Regions from separate parts of the Homo sapiens genome. Here region 1 is linked to region 2. The links are contacts of gene promoters, found by promoter capture Hi-C in human tissues and cell types (Jung and others, 2019). All regions are on one chromosome and are shown on one strand. Each heading gives the region's core, a stretch centred on a gene start or on the middle of the fragment in contact. The rest is flanking DNA. Distances are from core to core; before and after follow the strand shown.

The links. Contacts are between HindIII fragments. The study calls those that stand out against the background at their distance.
Region 1: a fragment that was not itself captured here is called in contact with the fragment with the promoter of PDX1 in region 2 in 3 of the 25 tissues and cell types used here (liver, pancreas and stomach).

What each region holds. Positions count from the first base shown.
Region 1 is chr13:27,872,796-27,876,774 of GRCh38, reverse strand. All of the region lies in intron 1 of PLUT (PDX1 associated lncRNA, upregulator of transcription), which reads left to right. Among named protein-coding and RNA genes, the nearest start is that of PLUT, 43 kb to the left of the region's middle. The HindIII fragment of the contact is 7,641 bases long and covers 1-3,979 here.
Region 2 is chr13:27,918,107-27,921,573 of GRCh38, reverse strand. PDX1 (pancreatic and duodenal homeobox 1) reads right to left here and starts at 1,574. Exons shown (of 2, transcript NM_000209.4): 1 at 1,030-1,574. The coding sequence starts at 1,435. The HindIII fragment of the contact is 14,480 bases long and covers 1-3,467 here.

The DNA of each region.
Region 1 (3,979 bases), core at 1,403-3,902, 46 kb after region 2:
TGAAGTTTGCAGTTCTTTCAGCTGTAATCTCCTGCTATTACACAGAAGTCCTACTGATGTAGTTGTAAGGTGTTGGGAGAGTAAAGCCATTATATACAGTCCTGTGATCAGGTCTTGGTCTCTTAGCGGCCTGTGTTCCTGTGCTGTGACCTTCACAAGGGCTTCTCAGTGCCCCTGCTTAGGCAAGACAAGAAAGCTACAGGGGGCTGGAGCTTGGCATTTCTCTTTCTCCAGGTGTGTTAGGCTCTGATAAAACCCAAGTAGGTTAGACTCTGGTAAAACATTTTCTCTTGAGGCAGACCATTGTTAAGGAGAACAGAGTGCTCTAGGCTTATTTCAAAATGGTTCTTTTCCCCTTTCCCGCTGAAAACCTTGTGGGACCCCTGAAGGCACAACACAGGACAGTATGGGGGCACCCCTGAACCTGGGCTTTCAGGAGTTTTATCTCTCAAGCTAGTTCTTGCTCAGTCTCCAGCAATTAGTCCTTTACCCCGTAAGTGTTGCTACCAGCTCCAGCTGCAGCTTCTGCTCCCTGTAAGGTATGGTTTTCTGTGTCTTCCTGTCTGCCTCTCTAGTTTTCAGGGTAGCAGTTTGTCCTGGGACCTCAACTGTCTGAAGAATTTAAGAAGAGTTGTTGGTTTTCCGTTTACTCAGCAACTTTCTTTTCTTTTCTTTTCTTTTTCTTGTTTTGAGATTGGGAGTGATGAGTTCTAAGCTCTTTACATGTCAGACTGGAAGCTGGGTGTCAGTGCCATTGATTTTTGCATGTTAATTTTATATCCTGCTATCTTATGAAATTCTTTTAATGTTTGGATTGTTTTATTATTGATTTTCTAGGGTTTTCCAGGTTTGCTATTATGTCATCAGCAAATAGAGAGAGTTTTAATTTTATTTTTTTCCCTTTTATGTTTAATTGTTTTCTCTACTCTAATTGTATTGAGTAGTACCTACAGAACAATGTTAAACCGTTGTGGAGACAGTGAACATTTTGCTTTGCTTCTGACATTAATAGGAATAGCTCTTGGGTTTCCCTATTAAATAAGATGTTGACTTTAGGATTGAATTTTGTGTATTTTGACACGCGTTTTCAAATGTGGTTTTAATTGTTTTTTACTATGGCAAGGTCAATAGATCAGGAGAAGACTGCCATTAAAAAGACAGTGTGGACCAGACACAGTGGCTCACACCTGTAATCCCAGAGATTTGGGAGGCAGAGGTGGGAGGATTACTTGAGGTGAGGAAGTCAAGACCAGTTTGGGCAAAATAGTTAGACTATGGTGCTTTAAAAAAAAAAAAATTAGCTAGGTGTGCCTGTGGTCCTAGCTACTCAGGAAGCTGAGGGGGGAGGATCGATTGAGTTCACCACTCCATTCCAGCCTGGGAGACCCTGTCTTTTAAAATAAATAAATAAATAATAAGAAAAGAAAAGAAAAAAATTATATCCATAGATTGCAAAAGGATGGGGTACACTATACCACACGGGAAAACACCAAGCCCAGACAGGAGGCAGCAGGGGAGGAGGAACTGTGGGCTGGAACCTTTATTGTGGTTTCTATGAGAAGGAATGGACAAGGCAGGGCAAACAGGCTGAGGCTCAGGATTGGCTGGTTTGAATAATTGTACCCTGAGGCATAAGGGCTGCCCCTAATTGTCTGGTACTTGGCCCTGGGGTGATTAGGGCAGGTGGATGGTGGCCCAGAATGTGAAAGCCTGATAAAGGAGGAGGTCTTGCAGGTGAATTGTTAGCTATGTCTAAGAATTAGCTCACCGTGGAATGGGTAGTGCCTCCAGGGTCAGCAAAGCTCCAGATGTCAAAGCATGAAAATAAAGCAAATAAAAATGATGAGTTCATGTCCTTTGTAGGGACATGGATGAAGCTGGAAACCATCATTCTCAGCAAACTATCGCAAGGACAAAAAACCAAACACCGCATGTTCTCACTCATAGGTGGGAATTGAACAATGAGAACACATGGACACAGGAAGGGGAACATCACACACTGGGGACTGTTGTGGGGTGTGGGGAGCGGGGAGGGATAGCATTAGGAGATATACCTAATGCTAAATGACGAGTTAATGGGTGCATTATGTATACATGGCACATGTATACATATGTAACAAACCTGCACGTTGTGCACATGTACCCTAAAACTTAAAGTATAATAATAATAAAATAAAAAAGAAAATAAAAATAAAAAAAAGAAAAGAAAGCAAATAGAAAGGAATGGTTAATGTAGCAGGTTAAGGAAACATTATTCCTTTTCTGTTTTCTCAAGAAGTTTTATGAATGGGTGTTGAATTGTATCAAAGTTTTTTCAGCATTTATTGAGATAATCAAATGCTCTATCTTCCTAGATCTATTAGTAAATATTATGAATTAGATTAAAATATTTTCTTTCTTTCTTTTTTTTTTTTAAAATTTGAGATAGAGTCTTGCTCTGTCACCCAGGCTGGAGTGCAGTGGCATGATCTTGGCTCACTGCAACCTCCACCTCCCGGGTTCAAGCAATTCTCCTGTCTCAGCCTCCCGAGTAGCTGGGACTACAGGTGCACGCCACCACACCCACCTAATTTTTGTATTTTTAGTAGAGACGGGGTTTCACCATATTGGTCAGGCTGGTCTCGAACTCCTGACCTCAAGAAATCCACCCGCCTCAGCCTCCCAAAGTGCTGGGATTACAGGCATGAGCCACCACACCCAGCTGATTAAAATATTTTCTAATATTGACCCATTTTCTGTTTCATGGAATAAATTTGGTCATACGGTATTAATTATTTTAATATGTCCAGACCCACTTTTTATATCAATGTTTTGCAAGGCCCGCTTTACTATTGTGAAATTATATTTACAGACAATATTATCTACCTGTATCTCAATAATAATACCATCAAAATATATTGCACTAAATTTAAGAGGGAGGATAAAGAGAAACTAATTTGTTATGAACTGACATGTAATTTTATAAATGTTTTTATAAACATTCTGTAAATGCTTGAGCATGCCTACACTAGAAGATTCCATTTTTTAAGCCAGATTCTTGCACTTGTTCTTAGAATTATTATGAATGGGACAGCTACAAAAACAGATGGGTAATGATGTGTTGTATTGGCAATGTCAATGGCGTAAATATGTCACCATCGGTGACATTGTTTTCCAAACTGTTGAACAATTCTTGTTAATATCCAAACAAATCAAAGTGCAATTTTTGCCTTAATTTACACTATAGTTGCATGCCTAGAAATCTCAGTGTATATCAAATTGATGCAAAAATGTGTACATGTCTGGAGGAAAGAATTAGGTTCTAAACAGAGAAAACTGTGAATATTTTCCACTCACATAAATGTTCAGTATGACATTCATCATAATGCAAGACTGTCTTATGATTTATAAGACATCTGGCATCCCTGGCACTCCCCCACCAAATGCCAGTAGTAGCCCCCTCACCAATTACTTCAATCACCAAACATGCCTTCACCTTGCAGACAATCACTCAACTAGATCACCTCTGTTGGCTCAGTCAGTGGTATTTCAGTTCTGCAAATACAGTTTGTGTCAGGGACATGTCTTTTATGCAGATGACTGAAAAATAGCTGAAACTTATGGACAAATGTTCATCTTCACAGGTAGTAAAAAAAGTAAATAAAAACAAAAACATACTATTTCCCTCAAACCAATTAATTATTGATCTACAAAAGTAACACTGGATAGTGCAAGGTATGAAATGGGCACTCTCACTTATTTTAATTGTGATTTAAATTTTAAAACAACTTGGCAAAAGTTATTCAATGCATCCATAGTCTTAAACTAAGTTATTCCATTTCTTGGGGTCTTTCCTAAAAAGACAATTTAACAAATACAGAAACTTATGCCCAAAATACCATTACCAACAATAAATGGTTAGGAATATAATTTTAAAAATTATCCCACATACGACTATTTAAAAAATCTAGGGGCCGGGCGCAGTGGCTCACGCCTGTAA
Region 2 (3,467 bases), core at 325-2,824:
ACTCCCGGCTGCCAGTTGAAAGGAAAAGGCAACTATTTGCGGTGCAGGTGTGACCAGAAGTGGCTGAGGCACGGCAGCGATGACAGTGAGTAGCGGCGACGACACAGGCCGCGCCGGAACTTGCCGCTCGCGCGGGGCCGCAAAGGACCCGGGGGCTACCCCGTGCCTCCGGCTCCCGGCTCCGGGAAAGACCTTCTGTTCTCTGCCGGCGCGGAGGGCCGCAGGAACCAGGCCTCTCGCCTCCCCACCAGCTAGGCAGGGAGCGCCCATCTCCTGAAAAATTACTTCCTGGGAAGCGGTGCGGGGAGACAGCTTCAATTGCTTTCGGTTGGTGAAAAACGAATTCGCTTCTCAGATTGCTCTCCTAGCTGCCAGGCTCTGACGTTGAGAGGCCGGCTTTCAGCCTCGCGGTGAGCCCCCGCCTTGCCCCAGCCCCTTCCTCTTTACTCCTATCCTGTTTCCACAACCAGGGCAGCCGGACACTGCTGGGTTGGGTGCAGTTTCCTTTCCCTCCCTGCCTTTCTGCACCTACCTGGCGCCCCTAGATGCCTGCCCTTCCTTAACGAAGCGCGGGAAGTGAGGGGCTCCGGGGCTCCGAAGGCGATCTGGGGCCTGGGTCCGAGGCACCCATGTCCCTACTCGGCTTCCTCGATGTGCACTACCAAGGAGTCCTGGGTTCCCGGATCCCCTGCTGGAGGAGGATCTGTAGTGTCCGAAGCCCTGAGCAGGACTCAGCCTCGGCTCTCTAAGGATGGCGCTGGGAGCGCGGGCTCCTGGGGCGAAGATGGGCTCAGCGAACAGGGAAGGAAGGAGTGTACACTCCCAGGAGAGCTGGGTGGGAAAGATGCTTCAAACTGGACTAGAGAAGCACTGCTGTGAGGGATGGGCTCGGTAGCTCCCTGATGTAGTTTAGTCCGACCCGGGATAATCCAAGGCGCCGGGAACAGAGAGAAGGCTCCTGGGAGCGCTTGGAGGTAAGGCGGCCGGGTGAGAACCGGAAAGGAGAAAGGGGTGGGGAGCCAGGCTTACCTGCCCACTGGCCTTTCCACGCGTGAGCTTTGGTAGACTTCATCCATGGGAAAGGCAGCTGGACGCGGTTGGGCTCCTCCAGGACGCCCGGCTCGGCTCCCTCCGGGAAGGGCCCGGCGGGCGGGTGGGGGAGCGCGAGCTGAGCCGGGAGGTGGTGGTGAAGGTGCGCCACCGCGGGGTCGTCGGCGAGGGGGGGCACCTCGTACGGGGAGATGTCCGGGGGGCTGCCCTGCTCCAGCGCGCCCAGGGCGCCAGGGAACGGGTGCGGCGGCGGCGGCGGGGGCTGGCGGCCCATGTACAGGCACGCAGGGGGGCTGGCGCTGAACTCCGGCGCCGGGCCTCGCTGGAACGCGCATGGGTCCTTGTAAAGCTGCGTGGCCGCGTAGTACTGCTCCTCGCCGTTCATGGCTGCGGCCCGGGATTGGGCACCGGGAGCCGGGAGCCGGGAGCCGGGAGTCGGGAGCTGGAGCCGGGGATTTGGCACTGTGTGGCGTTCCCACTCCCGGCGCCACCCCTGCTCGCTTTGACAGCTCCGCACTGATCTCAGAGGGAACCCACAGCCAGCGCGGACCGGCGGGCCGGCCGCCGCACCATAGGCTCCGCGGGGCCCCACGTGGTTCAGCCGGGGGCCGTGATTGGCCTGGCTGGCCGCACTAAGAGGCTAGGCCCAGGTACCCGCGAGCACCTGCTTTTGTTCCAATTTTCTCTCTCAGCTGAGTTTGCTGCACACTCCTGAACGGGCAGCTGGCGGTGCTCCCCAAAATGGGCGCTCACGAAAACATTAGAACCACTCATTTATAGAAACATTTTCACCGTGGCTTAAAAGTTTCTATTTTCCTATATTTTTCTATTTTCTATTTTCCTATATTTTTTCTATTATATTTGATAATGGACATAGTGTGTTTGTTAATTGATGTAGTTTACAAGGAGACATGTTGAGTTTTTAATTTTTTATTTAACTGTTGCGGAATACGATAAAAAAAAAGTTTGCAGACCCAGCTCTCTAGGTCAGAAGCATTTGATTCTATTTTATTTATGAAGTTTGTTCACAGCCACAAAGATGTCGGTTAAAAAACACACGAAACTCTGGCATTCGTTGTGTGTTTTTACTTGTGGATGTGCTGCAAGTACTTCTGGGGTGTAAACGGTAACTTCTGAAGCATTCACAGAGACTTTTTTAAATTCTTTTTTTTAAAAAATTGAAGGGTATTACAAATTTGGGTTTTGGAAAATTGGGGCCCATTTGGCCAGCCCGGAACGTAGCTTCCCAATACAGCGAGGGGGAAAGACGCGGCCTTCCTCTTGGGGCTGCGAAGCAGGGGCAGGTGTTGGCACGGGGGTTCCAGACCCTTGACGACTCTCTACGGGCCGGGACCCTGGCGGAGTTTGCCGGCAGAGAACACTCACTCTCTTCTGCTTGCAATTGAAATAAGGCAAGCAGGAGAGGGGGAAGTGGAGGAAGAGTTACATATTTAGAAAAAGAAATAAAAACGCTGCATTTTCCATGATAACATCTGTGCTTGGCTTCAAACCATTCAGTAACTTCTGGGCATTCTGGGGTCCTGACTTAAACAGGGCCACTTTTTCTGCACCCACTGACGCGGATGGATGACCTCCGGGTGGCGGTGACGTCCAACCCCCTGCCTGGGCATGATCCGCTAGGCCTGGCGGCCTGACCAGCCTCTGACTGGATACTCCCGAAATGAGGACGTTTCTCGAAACGCCACCGTGGGTTTTAGAAAAACTAGACAGCTTTGCAGAAACGTCTCAGCAAGAGAGAGCTTGAACCACAAAGAACCAAGCCAGAGAAAAATCACTGCTCCGCCTTTCCTAAACAACGCACCAACATCCAGACCTTTGAGAGTCAATCTTAATGTATTTCTTTCTTCCTACTGGAAATATTTGTGTTTTAAGTGCGGATTGAGTGCTCTATTCTGAGGACTCTTTATTTTTATTAAAAGACAAAAAAGCCAGTCGGGAATGTGGACTTCTCTGCAGATTCCTTCTCTTGCGGGAGGCCGGTATAGTCTCAGCATTTGCTTCGATGTGTGAGAACTCATGTGTGTGGCTTCCTGGCCTGTGGCCTCATGTGTGTGGCTCTGATGTGTGGCTCCCTGGCTTGTAGATGCCCTTGCTGTCACCGAAGACAGGCCAAGGGAAGCACGGCGGCGGGCGGGGAGAGTTTCGGTGATTTCTTCAGGGAAAAGTGCCACCTGCAGTTTTGGTGGGGGCAGAGAGTGAAAGGCCGTGGGGCCCGGGCACCTAATCTCTGTGCGCCCGCGTCAATGAGTCCATTGTCTGCGGCCGCGGAGAACTCTACCCTATCACCCTGGCCGCGAGTGACCACATCGATCAGGAGGGCAGGCTGGAGGGGGTTGCCTGGCCGCGGCGTGTTGACCCTTGGAGATAATCTGCCGAGTCGCCGAGGGTTGACTTGG